2 separate regions of the Homo sapiens genome follow, and region 2 is linked to region 1. The links are contacts of gene promoters, found by promoter capture Hi-C in human tissues and cell types (Jung and others, 2019). All regions are on one chromosome and are shown on one strand. The core of a region is centred on a gene start or on the middle of the fragment in contact, and the rest is flanking DNA. Distances in the headings are between cores, read along the strand shown.

Region 1 (3,235 bases), core at 698-3,197:
TTACCGCTTACCCTTCCCAAATGCTAGTCCCAAGCTGTCCCCGTTTCTGCAGCATGGTAGGGAGAGTGGGGAGGGCAGGGGGCAGTTGGGGTCAAATAAGGCTCTAGCTGACGCAGTCTGCTTGCTGCCCCTGGCTGTTTTCCTGCAGTCCAGCCAGACTGCTCCCCCCCCACTGCCCCACCCCCACCCCCAGCAGCCTCAAGCCCTTAATTCCTGACAGCTGCGGTGGCTGCCGGCAGAGATGAGGGGGAAAGGAGGGGGGAGTATGCCGTCAGCCTGCTGTTGCTCAGGCCGCCCCCACCACCTGACAGTCTGGGGACAAGGAGGGCCCCACCCCCTCCTTCAGTTCCCCAGGGATGGGCAATTCCAGGAATGGGCCTTTTTTGTCTCTGAGCCCAGAGGCTCCCATAGTTTTGTTCCTAAGCCAGCAGGGGCTCTCTTCAGAGAGAGGGGCATGTTTGTGTAAAGGCTTGTGCCCATTTTACAGAGGAGGATGCCGAGGGCACAGGGCAGGAGCACGATCCACTATCAGGGCCCAGGCTAGCACCAGAAACAGACGGCAGAGCTGCCTTTCCCCTGCCCTCTGGCTCTCAGGCCCTTGCTTGGGCCCAGCACACTTGCACTATATCGAGGAGGGGCCCAGTGTTCAGTTGGGGTGGAGGGACAGGAAGATCTCAGCGAGAAGTAGACCTGAGCCAGGAGGCTGGTATTAGGGACCTCCTAGAGGACCATGTGCAGGTGGGGCCAGGGAGGGCCAGGACAAGACTGAGAGTATCTGCGGGCACAGGCAGGCAACACTCAGTGTTGGGGAGGCAGCTGCTGCGCTGGGAGTCAGGAGAGCTGCGTTCGGTTCTCGCTCTTCCGCTAATTTGCTGTGTGACCTCTTTGAGCCTCGATATTTTCTTGTGAAATAAAGGGGAGCTAAATAAACTATCTCAACGGCCACTTCTAGGGTTAAAAGTCTCTCTAACGCCTCCTCCCAGGACGTGCCACCCCGGGCGCTCCTACGCAAGCATTTTCTGGGGGCCTGACACTGCTGCCTCCCCGGGCTCACTGAGGAGACAAGGTGGTCCCCATGAGCCGCATTCCGCAAAGGGGCAGAGGAGGTCTCCGTGAGCAGGAGCAGGAGGCACCTGTTTAAGGTCACACAGCAAAGGGGAGAAGAAACCAGAGGCTGCCAAACTCCTCTGCAGGAGCCCACACCTGCCTCACACCAGGCAGGCCTGGGGGAAGTCCCTCCTCTGGCGGAGGAGGCGAAACACAGAGGCCAGCCCCTCCCCTCCAGCCCCTGCAGGTGTGTGTGTTGGGGTGGGATGGGGGCGCTCCCCAGCAGCTGCGTCTCTGCCAGGCACACACACCTCGCGGTAACACATATCCCCCACACAACCCAGCGCGCTCCACACACAGGCATCTTCCTGTGCACGCGCGCACAGACCCCAACACCTTTCCCTCTGTTGCCCTCAGCAGGGACGCTCCCACCCCCAGTCCCCAGCGGACGCAGTGGCCTCGGGACTCGTACACGCCTCCACGCCCCGCCGCGTGACGTCACGTGGGGTAGAGCCCTGAGACACTAAATGGCGGGGGGGTGGGGGGAGGAAAGGGAAGGCGGCAGAGCTCCCCGAGCCGGGACAGTCACTTACTCTACAGGCAGTGGGGCCCGACACAGACAGCGCCGCCCCCGCCAGCCAGCCTCGCACGCCCTCGGAAGCGCAGGCTCCCGGCGCTGCGCTGGAGGGTTCCCCGGCACCCCAGCCTCCCGTCCCCAGCCCGCTGCACCTCCGGGCCCCCCTTACCCTTGAGAGGCACCGGGAGTTGTCGCGGGGGGGCCTCGGGAAATTCCCCGGACCCCTGTGCCAGGAGGTGCCCGGTTCGCCCGCTCTTCACCCCCCGCCCCCCCCGAGGGCGGTGCCCGGGGGTGCTGCCCCATGGAGCGGGGAGGCGGGCGCCGTCTGCTCCGGGAGCCCTGACCCGAGTCGGAGCTGTGTGTCGCAGCCGCCCCGACCCCCCGCCGATCATGCGCCGGCGCCCCTGGCTCTCCAGTCCCACTGGGCTGTGAGCCCCCCACTCCCAGCCCGTCAGGGCCTGCGCGCCATGGGCAGCGCCCACCCTCGCCCCTGGCTGCGGCTCCGACCCCAGCCCCAGCCGCGGCCAGCGCTCTGGGTGCTCCTGTTCTTCCTACTGCTGCTGGCTGCTGCCATGCCCAGGTGAGCCCTCACCTCATGCTCCGCCCTCCTAGAGAGTTGGGACCCCGGCCTGCAGGGGCCTCTGATGCTCTTGCTGGGGTAGAGGACCCTGGAAGAAGGGAGGGACAGGGTCATAGGAAAGTGCTGGTGCCCAACCAAAGGCAGTGAGCTCCCTCATAGGAGGGGGTTGGACTGGTGACAGGATATGGGCAGTCCAGGGAGACAAGGCAGTGCCCAGGAGCATGATGGCAACTAGGAGGGGAGGTGTGTGTGGGGGGGGAGCAAGTGCCAGTCTGGAGTTCCTGCCCTGTTGGGGGAATGCACCCCCACCTCAGGAGTAAGCACAAGCTGCCTCACTCCTTCCTGCAGCTCAGCCCCAGGTAGGGGCAGGGGTTGGGAGGCTGGAAGGGGGTAGCCCAGGTGGGGTCAGTGAGAGACTGCAGCTGCAAGAGCTGTGTGTGTGTGTGTGTGTGTGTGTGTGTTTTCAATCGAGCCCAGGATCCCAGCAAACTGTGTTGGTAAACAGTAGTTTGTATGTGTGCCCATGTGTGCATGTGAGAGCTCATGGGTCAATGTATGTTAAGATGAACACATGTGTAAATGGGAGTGTCTTTGTGTGTGTGTCTGTAACTATGTCTGATGAAGTGTGCATGTGCGTAAGTGTGCTGGGGTTGGGTTTGTGTGTCCACCACAATGTGTGCAGAAGTGTGTCTATGTGAATGTGACTGAAACATATCTGTGGGAGTGGGCTTGTGGGGAACCCTGTGTGTATGGGCATCTATTCCTGGGGATGTGCATAGGAAATACTGTGGCCACAAGCATGGTGGATGTGTGTGCATTTGCACGCTTACCTGTGTGGGTGTGCAGCTAGCTGAGTGAGTTGCACTGGGCAGGATGATTGTGAGGAGGTCAAGGAGAGAGGAATGTGTAGGAGTGTACTGATGGGCCCAACCTTCAGAAGCAGAGGTTGGAAGAGGGAGTGATTATGGCCGTTGGGACAGAGTGTGTGTTGTTAGATGGGGCTCTCCTGGTCCCCCCAAAACACGTACCCA
Region 2 (3,100 bases), core at 462-2,961, 630 kb before region 1:
AGGGATGTCACAGGGTATTAATTACAGAGCAGGCCATATGCTATTTTTGTACAGTAATCCTTTCCTTTTTTTCCCCATTTTTCTTAAATCTTAAAAATAAGACTGAATTCTGATATCAAGAGTTAAGGTCCCTTCAATAGTTCAGCTGGTAGAGCAGAGGACTATAGCTACTTCCTCAGTAGGAGACGTCCTTAGGTTGCTGGTTCGATTCCAGCTTGAAGGAGACAAGTACAGTTTTGGCTGGGCACGGTGGTTCATGGCTGTAATCACAGCACTTTGGGAGGTTAAGGCAGGTGGATCACGAGGTCAGGAGATCAAGATCATCCTGGCCAATGTGGTGAAACTCTGTCTCTACTAAAATACAAAAAAAAATTAGCTGGGCATGGTGGCGCACGTCTGTAGTCCCAGGTACTCCAGAGGCTGAGGCAGGAGAATTGCTTGAACCCGGGAGGTGGAGGTTGTAATGAGCTGAGATCGTGCCACTGGACTCCAGCCTGGGCAACAGAACAAGACTCTTGTCTCCAAAAAAAAAAAAAAAGAGTTGAGGCTGGGTGCGGTGTCTCACGCCTGTAATCCTAGCACTGTGGGAGGCCAACATGGGCAGATCACCTGAGGTCAGGAGTTCGAGACCAGCCTGACCAACATGGTGAAACACTCCGTCTCTACCAAAAAAATAACAAAGAAATTAGCTGGGCGTGGTGGTGTGCGCCTGTAATCCCAGCTACTCGGGAGGCTGAGGCACAAGAATCCCTTGGACCCAGGAGGCGGAGGTTGCAGTGAGCTGAGATCACACCATTGCACTCCAGCCTGGATGACAGAGTGAGACCTTGTCTCAAAAAGAAAAAAGAAAAGAGTAAAGGATAGGCGGGGCACAGTGGCTCATACCTGTAATCCCAGCACTTTGGGAGTCCGAGGTTGGTGGGTCACTTGGGTCCAGGAGTTTGGGACCAGCCTGGATAACATGGTGCAGGCTCATCTCTACAAAAAGCAAGGGGCCAGGCACAGTGGCTCACACCTGTAATCCCAGCACTTTAAGAGGCCAAGGCGAGCAGATCACTTGAGGTCAGAAGTTCGAGACCAACCTGGCCAACATGGTGAAACCACACCTCTACTAAAAATACAAAAATTAGTTGGACATGGTGACATGTGCCTATAGTCTATAGTCCCAGCTACTCGGGCAAGCGAGGCATGGCAATTGCTTAAACCCAGAAAGTGGAGGTTGCAGCAAGCCGAGATCATCCTGCTGCGCTCCAGCCTGGGAGACTGTCTCAAAAAAAAAGATAACTAGGCATGGTGGTGCATGACTGTAGTCATAGCTACTTGAGAGGCTGAGGTGAGAGGATCACTTGAACCCAGGAGGTAGAGGCTGCAGTGAGCTGTGATGGCACCACTACACTCCAGCCTGGGTGGCAGAGTGAGACCCTATCTCACCAAAAAAAGGAGTTAAGAAGAGAACCACCTAAGCAGCTAGATGGGGGTTCTCTGTCATTTGGCAATTCTTGGTTTTTTGCTTATTAAGCCCAAGCTCCAGCCGTGATCCACTTACTCCACTTTTTCGCGGAATAAATTCAGGTCTTCCTTCAGTTGCTCCAGCCTCATGCACTGGCTGATTATGATAGCTTACAGTTTGGAATTAATAAGCTTGTTCACACTGCACCCAATGCCACTGGAATGTCTCCTTTGTGAAATGTAATTTAATTCACCTCAGTGGTAAAGGTGAACCTGTTTATTGGTGATGAATCTGTTGATTTACCAAATTTCATTAAATCTAAACTATACACTTTTTTCTTTTTTCTTTCTCTCTGTCACCCAGGCTGGAGTGCAGTGGTGTGATCTCGGCTCACTGCAACCTCTGCTTCCCAGGCTCAAACAATTCTCGTGCCTCAGCTTCCCAGGTAGCTGGGACCACAGGCGTGTGCCACCACACCCGGCTAATTTTTGTATTTTCAGTAGAAACAGGGTTTCCAGCTGGGCACGGTGGCTCACGCCTGTAATCCCAGCACTTTGGGAGGCCGAGGCAAGTGGATCACGATGTCAGGAGATCGAGACCATCCTGGCTAACACAGTGAAACCCCATCTCTACAAAAAATACAAAAACTTAGCTGGGCGTGGTGGTGGGTGCCTGTAGTCCCAGCTACCCTGAAGGCTGAGGCAGGAGAATGGCGTGAACCTGGGAGGCGGAGCTTGCAATAGGCCAAGATCACGCGACTGCACTCCAGCCTGGGCGACAGAACAAGACTCCGTCTCAAAAAAAATTAAAAAAAAAAAAAAGAAACAGGGTTTCCATGTTGGCCAGGCTGATCTCAACTCCTGGCCTCAAGCAATCCACTCACTTCAGCCTCCCAAAGTGCTGGGATTACAGGCGTGTGCCACTGCGCCCAGCCAGCTATACCATTTTTTTCAAGTTTTTGTCTTTGAAGCTGGGATGCATCTTACAATTCATAGCATGTCACACTTTAATTGGCAGCATGTTTCTCTTGTGGTACATAAAATTATGGCAGACTTACAGTCATAAGCACCTTAGATTCTTTGAAGTATAGTTGTCTTCTGTTGTGGTGTTCATTTACTTTCAGGCCAGGGCACATTGACACAGAAATTCCACACTTCCTTAGGAGGCATTCCTTTTCATTTCAACGAAAACTTCAGACAACTGACGGGGTTTTGCAGATAGTGAGTAGAGGAGGTGCAGCAGGTAAAAACGATTCCAGAAAACCAGGGCAAGAGGGGCATGCAGGCCTGCTGTAGTGCAAAGGACTTTGTGATGAGCACACAGGTCTTTTTTTGAGATGGAGTCTTGCTCTGTCACTCAGGCTGGAGTGCAGTGGCACCGTCTTGGCTCACTGCAACCTCCACCCCCCGGGTTTAAGCGATTCTCCTGCCTCAGCCTCCTAAGTAGCTGAGATTACAGGCACACGCCATCACATGTGGCTAATTTTTATATTTTTAGTAGAGATGGGGTTTCACCATGTTGGCCAGGCTGGTCTCAAAACTCCTGATCTCAGATGATCAGCCTGCGTCAGCCTCCCAAAGTGCTGGGATTACAGGCGTGAGCCATCGCGCCCAGCCTCACACAGGTCTTTAGGTGGCTGGTGTCACAGGG

The links. Contacts are between HindIII fragments. The study calls those that stand out against the background at their distance.
Region 2: a fragment that was not itself captured here is called in contact with the fragment with the promoter of WNT10A in region 1 in 1 of the 25 tissues and cell types used here (spleen).

What each region holds. Positions count from the first base shown.
Region 1 is chr2:218,878,905-218,882,139 of GRCh38, forward strand. It overlaps WNT10A (Wnt family member 10A), which reads left to right and starts at 1,948. Exons shown (of 4, transcript NM_025216.3): 1 at 1,948-2,204. The coding sequence starts at 2,092. RefSeq lists silencers at 1,374-1,433, 1,654-1,863, 1,884-2,023. The HindIII fragment of the contact is 13,021 bases long and covers 1-3,235 here.
Region 2 is chr2:218,245,696-218,248,795 of GRCh38, forward strand. All of the region lies in intron 8 of ARPC2 (actin related protein 2/3 complex subunit 2), which reads left to right. TRY-ATA1-1 (tRNA-Tyr (anticodon ATA) 1-1) reads left to right here and starts at 131; the gene lies at 131-223. The HindIII fragment of the contact is 7,344 bases long and covers 1-3,100 here.